Regions from separate parts of the Homo sapiens genome. Here region 1 is linked to region 2. Evidence: promoter capture Hi-C in human tissues and cell types (Jung and others, 2019). All regions are on one chromosome and are shown on one strand. The core of a region is centred on a gene start or on the middle of the fragment in contact, and the rest is flanking DNA. Distances in the headings are between cores, read along the strand shown. Region 1 has its middle 17 kb from the start of MLLT3. Region 2 holds the start of CDKN2B (cyclin dependent kinase inhibitor 2B).

Region 1 (5,211 bases), core at 206-2,705, 1.4 Mb after region 2:
GTGTGTATTTTTCCCTTGTCCCTGGGGCTTCATTTTACTTCTGTTCTCTCTCTTCCTTTTTGGCTGATAAATCCTTCTGTAACCCAGATCTCAGCTGAGATATCACCTTTATCAAGAAACCCTGTCAGTTGCTGGTATGGGGATTTGCCTAAATAACCTTGTTATGGTTATCTTAGCTTGGGAAAAGGAGAAATAAAACATGTTGAACATGTTTTGATGTAGAACATAGAATATATTTGTTTTGGGTAAACGAATTGGAGATAGTATTTTACTTGTAGGTGAGACCTGGTCACCAAAATATTTTCATTCCTAGTATTAGTTTAAACATTGCTGCTGTAAGTTAGCTATCACAGCAAATCAATAATATTTAAGTCATAGCTCCTTTCAGTGGATCTCACTAGTAAATAAGCCATTGAAAAGTATGACCATATTTATTTTTAGTGAACTAATGTTTTATAATATACATCTAGTAAAGTATACATAACTTAGTGAGTAGTCTGATGAATTCTGATGACTGTATACCTCTGGGTAACCAATATCCCAACTGGTTTCCAAAGTAGAACTTTTCCAGCACCCCAAATAATTCCTTTGTGCCTTTTTGGTCAATTCCTCTAAAATGCAGTTACTGTTCTAATTTCTACCACAATTCATTGGTTTCGCATGTGTTGGAATGCCATGTAAGTAGAATCAGATAGTATATGTATATTCATGTATTTTGCTTCTTTTGCTCAACATAACGTTTTTCAGATTCATTTATGTTGTTGCATATATGAGTAGTTCATTCTTATTTTATTACTGAACAGTATTCCAATGTAGTATATGTGGCACAATTTATCCATTTTACCAATTTTCATATTGGTGGACATACGGACTATTCCCTATTTTGGCCTATAACAAATAAATCTACTATGAACATTCTTACGTAAGTCTTTTTGTGAAGATATGTCTTTATGTTTCATAAACACCTAGAAGTTGAATCCAGATGGATCATAGAATAGGTATATTTTTATCTTTATTAGAAACTGTTAAACAGTTTATCAAAGATTGGTATTATTTTATACTCCAACTAGAAATGTATGCAAATTCTACTTGTTCCACATCCACATCAAAATCTAGTGTGTCAATCTTTTTAATGTTTGTCCTTTTAGAAGTGTGAAATGATTTCTCATTGCAGTTTTCACTTGCATTTCCCTAATGATTAAAAATGCTGAGCACCTTTTCTACATGTCTGTCCTGGAATCTTTAAAGTGTGGCTCTTGTTCTCATTCTTACAAAATGGTGCTGGAGCTCTAGCTGTCACTGCGCCGTAGGCAGAAGGAGGAACAAAGGGTCCAGATCTTACAGTCATGTATCTGCTGAGTCTTTCTCAGAAGCCTCACCCATGGGCTTCTCTTTCTATCTCATTGGTCAAAATTATGTCACATGCCTAACCAATCTGCCAGGAAGGCTGGGTAAAGCAATTTTTTAAGCAGATCTTCCAGGTTTCTATTACTGTGAAACAAACCAACTCAAAAGTTAATGGCTTAGAATGAAAATGTGTTTTTCTCACAAATAGGCCATTTGGGCAAAGCTTAGCAGAGACAGCTTGTCTCTGCTTCACTTGGCATCAGCCTAGAGGCAATTGTTGCTGGCTGCCGGCCAAGAAGACTCACACAGTTGGAACTGTGGTTAGAACACCTACACATGAGCTTTTCATGTGGGTTCTTGGATTCCCACACCACGATAGCTGAGTCCCAAGGGTGAGGGTCCCAAGAGAGACTGAGGTAGAAACCATATCGCCTTTTATGACCTGGAAGTCACACATTATCACTTGTGCTGTATTCTATTCATTGTGGAAAATACAAAGGTCTGCCTGGTTAAAGGGGAAGAGAAGTCGATTTTACAACTTGATCTGGGGGTGGCGAGGTATGGAAGAGCAAGTGGACCAAAATATTGCTGTGGGCTGGGCCCAGTGGCTCACGCCTATAATCCCAGCTCTTTGGGAGGCCGAGGCAGGTGGATCATTTGAGGTCAGGAATTTGAGACCAGCCTGGCCAACATGGTGAAACCCCGTCTCTACTGAAAAAATACAAAAATTAGCCAGATGTAGTGGCGCATGCCTGTAATCCCAACTACTTCAGGAGGCTGAGGCGGGAGAATAGCTTGAACCTGGGAGGCGGAGGTTGCAGTGAGCCGAGATCGTGCCACTGCACCCCAGCCTGAGCGACAAGACTGAGATTCCATCTCAAAAACAAAAAAAACAAAAAACAAAATATTACTGTGGCCATTTTGGGGAAATACAATCTGCTACAATTGGGCATGTTGCTTACCCCTAACTAAGCTGGGATTCTCTTCACAAGAAAGATGTGGCGAATAAATATTGGGTAGGCAAGCTGAGTTTCTGTCATGTTCTTTACACATATAACATTATAATTGTTTGCTTTCCACTAGACTGTAAACTCCATAAAGACAGCAGCCAGATTTGTCCATCTGTCTTTATTAATTATTGGTTCCTTAGGGCCTAAGGAAAAAAAAATAGGCATTCAAGAAATATTTCTCAATGAACAAGTATTAAACTAAATAAAACCATATATAGAATATCAGTTTTAGAAAATAAACTGTGATGAAACATTAGGAAAGAATGTAAAAATTGAAATTTTAAGTCAATAACCTGCCAGCCTGGAGCTGGGAGCTGTGGCTCACACCTGTAATCTCAGCACTTTGGGAGGCTGGGACAGGTAGATCGCTTGAGCTCAGGAGTTTGGGACCAGCCTGGGCAACGTGGCAAAACCCTGTCTTTACAAAAAATACAAAAATTTGTCAGGTGTGGTGGTGCATGGCTGTAGTCCCAGCTACTCAGGAGGCTGAGTTGGGAGGATCACTTGAGCCCAGGAGGTTGACGCTGCAGTGAGCCATGATTATGTCACTGTACATCAGCCTGGGTGACATAGTGAGACCCTATGACAATAAATAAGTAAATAAATAAATAAAAACCTATCAGGCTGGGCAACATAGTAAGACCCTATCTCTACAAAAATCTTTTTAAAAAATTAGCTGAGTGTGGTGGCATGCACCTGCAGTGGCAGCTATTTGGGAGGCTGAGGTGGGAGGATCACTTGAGCCCAGGAGTTCAAGGCTGCAGTGAGCCATGATCACAGCACTGCATTCCAGCCTGGGGGATAGAGTGAGATTGTCTCTAAAAAAAAGTCAATAACCTGCAGAAAGCCCAATAAACATATATGCTAAGGATTAAAACAAATCTCATTCTACTTTTTAAAATAAAAAACAAAATAAAGTGCTATTTAGTGAGGCAATCAGAGACCAAAAGCCAGTCCTTATGACTTTTCTATACATTACTTTACATTGGTTTAGAATATCCAGCCATTGACCATTATTTGCTATTGTTGGAGACAGTTTGGAAAATGCATGCTCCCTGATCCTTACTGGATCAGTATTGAGGTCAAGAATTTGTTCATTCTGTGAACTATCTCTTCTTCATCCTTAAGTACATTTTTAGCTTACATAGTTTAAAATCTTTATTTTCTCTTTTTATTTATTTATTGATTTATTTATTATTTATTTATTGCTTTTTAGTTTTAGAGACAAGGTCTCATTCAGTTACCCAGGCTGGAGTGCAGTGGCACTATCATAGCCCACTGTAACCTCAAACTCCTGGACTCAAGCAATCCTCCCACTTCAGCTTCCCGAGTACCTGGGACTACACGTGCACACCACCATGCCCAGCTAATTAAAAGAAAAAAAATTCCTTGTAGAGACGGGGTTTCTCTGTGTTTCCCAGGGCGGTCTCTAATTTCTGGCCTCAAGCAATCTTTCCACCTCAGCCTCCCAAACTGCTGAGATTATAGACATTAGCCACTGCACCCAGCCTTAACATTTTTTGACTTATGTTGTTTCATATATTTAAATATTTTCATCGTTTTCATTGGTTTCATATTCCCTTTTGAAGAGCTCTTCAATGTTTTGTTTTTCTTTTTCTGGTCCATTTAATAACTAGTTTGCCAGTAACCATGGCTTTGCATGGCACGTTCCTGAGGACTGTGACAAATATTCTCATACTGTGATCTGATTATATCATACCTCTGCTCAAATTTTTTCAGTGGTTTCTTGTCAGGCATAGAAAACTCTTAATCTGTTGAGCATGAACAGAATACCCTTTCTGAGGAGATTCCTCATCTCCCAACACTTTCCTTCAGTCAGACCTTAGAATAAGTATAGCTACTGAGCTTGCCATACCTTCTCCTTTCTCAGTGCCCCCCCACCCCCACCCTTCCTAGTGTCTTTCCAGGCTGAAGGAAGAATATCTGTTAAATGTTTGCTCCCAATTTCATTCTCATCCTTGTGACACCCTCTCCTCATCCTTGTGATAAACTCTTACCCTCCAGTATCATCTCAAGTGTTAATGCCTCAGTTATTCTTTCTCTAAGCTCCCATCTCAGATTGGGTGCATTTTCCTTGTCTTGTATTTGAATATGCAAATCTCAATTAGGCTTTTTTTTTTTTTTTTTTTTTTTTTACTTTCTCACAGCAAGTAGTTCTACACAAAATCTAGGTGGAAGAAACCAAGCACAATCATTTATTTAAATAGTATTTATTGTTTCTTCCTCTCTCTATGTCTTTTTATAGGAGAAGCGAGATATGAATTGGGGGGAGAGGAATCCTACTCTGTTGTTGGCTCTTTTTTTACCTACTATTGGCCAAAGAAGAAGACAGGTGGAGAGTAGTGATGCTCCTCCTGGAATGCCAAGGTGGAAGAGAAAAGCAAGTGATTTGAGAGGTGATTGCATAAGCTTAGACTCAAAGGCCCTGCTGATATATTTCCTATCTTTTACTTGCATCCTTCACCACATGAAGGAGGTTTTAGGGTATTTTTCACATCTGCCCATGGGACAACCCAGCCATTTTCTCTGTCCTCTGGGCTCCCTGCCTTGACAGAGTCTTCTTAGTGTGGTGCTGTCACAACAAGGCTGTTACTGTGATTGAAAGGAAAAGGCCAAAAGACACAGACAACGGAAGTTTATTTAATAGCCATGAATATATAAATGTACAGAAACAGTCAGACAAAGCAGAAAACAACATAAAGTACTCCCAGTTGGATTTACAGACTTTTCAAGTTCGCCACTGGGTCCTACTTAGGAAGAGTGAGTCATCTTCTAAGCCATTTTATCAGAGGATTTCCAATCCCCCTGCTCCTCCCTCTGCCTTTCTGAAGAT
Region 2 (5,322 bases), core at 1,868-4,367:
GTATTTCTAGGTGAGCTGGAAGAGTGAAGGCTCAATAATGCCACCTCGCAGGTGCAGCACCAGGTGCGGGGTGGGCTGTTTCTGGACGTTGTAGTCTGAGAGAGTGCGGCCATCCTCCAGCTGTTTGCTGGCAAATATCAGACGCTGCTTGTCAGGGGGGATACCCTCCTTGTCTTGAATTTTCGCACTGACATTCTCAATGGTGTCACTGGGCTCGACCTCAAGGGTGATGGTCTTGCCCGTGAGGGTCTTCACAAAGATCTGCATCTCTGTGTCTGCAGCTCGGCTGCCTCGCTGAAGAAAAAGAGGATGGCAGATCTGTTCATACTTCTATATCAAGGTCATATACAGACAATTTCACCAACTAGAATATAAAAATATTATTACTAGTGATCTGAGTTATGTGCAACATTGGAATGGATGCCACTCATTCCCTTCTACTGACCTCCAAAATTCTATGCCAATTTACCATTAACTTTCTCTTTCTTTCTTCTCAATTATAAATTCTCCACCTTATTAAAAGACATGGCTCTGACAATTCCAAGTTTCAGCTGCCCACTATGTTCCCATCCACTTCATCTTTTAAATGTGTTTAAAGCATTAACAACAGATTGTGTTTCACCCTAGAGACAGCTGGGTTTCAAGGAGAGGTAAAATGTTTCATAATCTCACTCTATTGTCCAAGACAAATGTGCTATTGTATTACATGTGAAATGTCATCTTTGAAGTCTGGTAAGGGTGTGCTGTGAGGTGAGCCATCTGGAAAACACAGTGTAGACTGAAAAATAATTATAAGCCAGTTTATTACTTTTTTCCAGTTAAGCCTACCATGACAGCTGCTAAAAAAAACACTATGTAGTATAAAGGGTAAAAAGACTCTGAAGTCGCAAAAGTTATACCCACCTCCAACAATGATTAGCTAGTATACAAGTCACTCAAATTCTCTGATCCTTTTGGCTTGTCTGTAAAATTGAAATATGGACACATGCCACAGAGGAGTTTTATGAGTATTAAATGAAACAACAGCTGTAAAGCACTTCGTACAGAGTACACAATAAGTTTGATTTCTCTTCTCGTCTTCTAAATATAGACTATATAATATTCTTTATACAGAGAATATTAGATAAAATCCAATCATATTTGAAAACCAGGTTGAGCAGGTTGGTTTTTCAAAGAAATTCATTGAGCTTCCATAATGTCCTTTCTATTTGACGGGAGAAAAGGGGCTTTGGAAGATCAAGTGTGAAGCTTTAGAATTCTGTCTGGAGCTGGTTAGGACCACCCAGGCCTGAGTATAAGCAAAGCGCTGTCCGTGGTGCTAGTAAGCGCGAATGCCCCCGGCAACGTTTTCCCTACCCAAAGTTGTTTTTCATTCAGTCAACTTGCTTCGCGAAGCTCACACATCTGCCTCGTGCAAGATTCTCAGTCATTTTACTTAGTCATTGGTTCTTTCCCTATCACCATTCTTTATGTCCCCCTCAAAGAAAAACATTATCTTCCATTTCCTTATCAACTCCAAACAGCTTTCATTTTTCTGACATATTTACTACCTAAGAAAATGGCTCAAGAATTGGGTCAGACTATCTTGTCCTAACTTTTCTGATAAGTTTCAGAGAAACTCAAAGGTCAAAACAAGAGCATAAGAGTAAAAGGTAGAGAAATTAAGAAACTGAAGACTAGGAAATGGGGGTTGGATGGGAAAGAAAAAGAAATTGTTATTAATGCTACCCGGTTCCCTTCCCTGTCCAGGTGGATTTCAGCTCTGTTGAGGCTCTGTCAGTAGATTTTCAGCCCTAACCAGCACTTCCATGGTGGTGGCACTTCCACTGCCTTTAAAAGAAAGAGCTTTTTTTAATTCTACAGGGATTTGGGGGATGAGGAGTCAGAGCTAAGGTATCCTAAAAAAAACATGTGAAGACTCTCATTTTGCAATACACAAGCAATTGCCCTCCTGTTAAGACTTTGTCTTCCTCAGCACTCCGAACCAAAATGATTCTGTAAACAAAAATTGTTCACTTTTAGGAGAGGTCCACTTATGCAGTTCCTCACCAAAGTTTTTAGGCAACAAATCCATAACTTGCGGTTCTCTTCCTATCCAATGTAGCATCCGCTGAAATGTTTTAAATATTTTAAGTAATAAATGTTGATTCAAACTCACCTAGGAAGATTAGGAAGGGGAAAAAAAGCACTTGGCATTTAAATCTTCAGAAGAGAATTTAATGACAGGTTCAGCCTGTTTAATGACAAGCCCAGCACCACACCCCTCTCTTATGATGTTTCATTATTACTGCATAAATTTCCTTTATTACTCATGATAAATAAAAATAAGATACCTGACAAAGTGGGTTTAAATAGGTAAGAGTGCAAACAAAGATTTACTGTACAAATATGATGAAACTGGGATCTCAGATTCTTAAAGTATAATTTTTTTTTGTCTTATGTGTGCCAGGTTGCCACTCTCAATCTCGAACTAGTTTTTTTCTCTTTTAAGGGTTGTATCCATAATGCAAAAATGGAAAGAATTAAAAAGCACACGCAAAACATGATTCTCGGGATTTTTCTCTATTTTTATGGTTGACTAATTCAAACAGAAAGACACATCCAAGAGAAAATTGCTAAGTTTGATACAAGTTATGAAACTTGTGAAGCCCAAGTACTGCCTGGGGATGAATTTAACTTGTATGACAGGTGCAGAGCTGTCGCTTTCAGACATCTTAAGAAACACGGAGTTATTTTGAATGACTTTCTCTCGGTCACAAGGGAGCCACCAACGTCTCCACAGTGAAACCAACTGGCTGGCTGAAGGAACAGAAATCCTCTGCTCCGCCTACTGGGGATTAGGAGCTGAGGGCAGTGGTGAACATTCCCAAAATATTAGCCTTGGCTTTACTGGACATCCAGCGAGCAGTGCAGCCAGCATTCCTGGCGGCTCCCTGGCCCAGTCTCTGGCGCATGCGTCCTAGCATCTTTGGGCAGGCTTCCCCGCCCTCGTGACGCGTCGGCCCGGGCCTGGCCTCCCGGCGATCACAGCGGACAGGGGGCGGAGCCTAAGGGGGTGGGGAGACGCCGGCCCCTTGGCCCAGCTGAAAACGGAATTCTTTGCCGGCTGGCTCCCCACTCTGCCAGAGCGAGGCGGGGCAGTGAGGACTCCGCGACGCGTCCGCACCCTGCGGCCAGAGCGGCTTTGAGCTCGGCTGCGTCCGCGCTAGGCGCTTTTTCCCAGAAGCAATCCAGGCGCGCCCGCTGGTTCTTGAGCGCCAGGAAAAGCCCGGAGCTAACGACCGGCCGCTCGGCCACTGCACGGGGCCCCAAGCCGCAGAAGGACGACGGGAGGGTAATGAAGCTGAGCCCAGGTCTCCTAGGAAGGAGAGAGTGCGCCGGAGCAGCGTGGGAAAGAAGGGAAGAGTGTCGTTAAGTTTACGGCCAACGGTGGATTATCCGGGCCGCTGCGCGTCTGGGGGCTGCGGAATGCGCGAGGAGAACAAGGGCATGCCCAGTGGGGGCGGCAGCGATGAGGGTCTGGCCAGCGCCGCGGCGCGGGGACTAGTGGAGAAGGTGCGACAGCTCCTGGAAGCCGGCGCGGATCCCAACGGAGTCAACCGTTTCGGGAGGCGCGCGATCCAGGTAGCTGGGGCCCCAGGGCCTCGCCGGCAGGGGGCGCGCGAACGCGGGGCGCGGCCTCGGCGGATCGGGGCTGGAACCTAGATCGCCGATGTAGATTTGTACAGGAGTCTCCGTTGGCCGGAGGTGTGCATTCCACGCGTAAAACAGGCTTTTACCCAGCAAAAATCCTAAAGAGAGACATTGAAAAACCCACTGTTTAAGCTTTTTTTAGTGGTTTTTGTTCTGCCATCTCATGATCAGAGATGCAAGGAATAGACTGAATTGGGGAGAAAAGGAGAAAAGGAAAGCTTATTTAGGGAAGAAGATTATCTTGTCTGTCTGCTTTCAACGATAAAGATAAGTAAAGTATAAGTTACGCATTCTAGATTGGATTTAAGGAATTCTACAAAATCATAGTACATGGAAAAAATCAATGTAAACTTCTAAGCTACTATATGAAATCTGTTGTATTGTTTTCTCATAGAGGTTAATTGAGAATGAGACGGGATTCCTCAACCACAGTACTTAGTTCCTTTTATGTTAGCAGTGTCTTATGAGTGATGCATAAGAGAAAAAATATATAGTTCTATAGGTTTCTCATTCTTTAATTATCATACTCAGTGCCCAGATTACAAAAATATTCCTGCAGCAACTGTTAGGTCCTTTTTGAATGGCAAAGGATCTTCATAAATAATGCATCTTTATCTTCATTGTTAAAATACACTTATTCAATGTTTAAGTACGAATCCTGCTTTAATTAGTACTGATATTTTTTATTTCTTTTACAATCTCGGACAACTCTTTTGTACTTTACCGTTGGCTAGTGGTCATATTCAGTACTCACCTCACTATCACCCTCTAAAACTAAGCTAATATTAAGGGATCTTGTTAATAGTATAGATTTTAAAGAAGTGTTCATTTCTTTTGAATTCTTAGAATAATGGTATAACAAATGAGGGATTTTTAAAGGAGCAAAAATATTGTAAAGTGCATCTTAAAAACTTAAAATTTTATTAATAATTATAAAAACAAGTTATATATGTAATTCACCATTTTCTGAAATACTAACAGCAGCTATTTTCCCCTTTTTTTCTATGTAAAATATCCTTACATCACTAGTAGATATAACTTATCACGGTTTTTAAGAGATGAAATGAACATTTCTAATATTAATGAAACAAGCCAACAAAACATGAGAAGTATACTGCCTTTCAATTAAATGGTATATTTTAAAGTGCATAAACCCATAACAAATAACTCGATTTTAGACATTTAGTTACCAAAAATTGTCTTATAATTGACTTTAAATATGACAGCAAATGTTTTCATAATGTTCATGTACACAAATGGCTGCTACAGGATTACTCCTGCAAAACATCATTTTTTCTAAGTTATGCATCATCCTGATTGACTGCTAACATCCAAGCTCTATTTATTTATTTATTTATTTTATTTTTTTTGAGATGAGGCCTCACTCTGTCGGACAGGCTGGAGTGCAGTGGCACAATCTCAGCTCACTGCAACCTCTTCCAGGATGCAAGCGATTCTCCTGCCTCAGCCTCCTGAGTTGCTGGGACTACAGGCACGCCCCACCATGCCCAGCTAATTTTTTATTTTTTGTAGTAGAGACGGGATTTCACCATGTTGGCCAGGCTGGTCTCGAACTCCTGACCTCAGGTGATCTGCCTGCTATGGCCTCCCAAAGTGCTGGGATTACAG

What was found. Contacts are between HindIII fragments. The study calls those that stand out against the background at their distance.
Region 1: a fragment that was not itself captured here is called in contact with the fragment with the promoter of CDKN2B in region 2 in 1 of the 25 tissues and cell types used here (lymphoblastoid cells).

What each region holds. Positions count from the first base shown.
Region 1 is chr9:20,637,063-20,642,273 of GRCh38, reverse strand. No RefSeq gene overlaps it. Among named protein-coding and RNA genes, the nearest start is that of MLLT3, 17 kb to the right of the region's middle. The HindIII fragment of the contact is 3,449 bases long and covers 1-3,179 here.
Region 2 is chr9:22,007,100-22,012,421 of GRCh38, reverse strand. CDKN2B (cyclin dependent kinase inhibitor 2B) reads left to right here and starts at 3,117. Exons shown (of 2, transcript NM_004936.4): 1 at 3,117-3,624. The coding sequence starts at 3,469. The region is part of intron 1 of CDKN2B-AS1 (CDKN2B and CDKN2A antisense cis and trans regulatory RNA 1); the gene reads right to left. It also overlaps the pseudogene UBA52P6. RefSeq lists silencers at 1,158-1,452, 3,576-3,775. The HindIII fragment of the contact is 12,658 bases long and covers 1-5,322 here.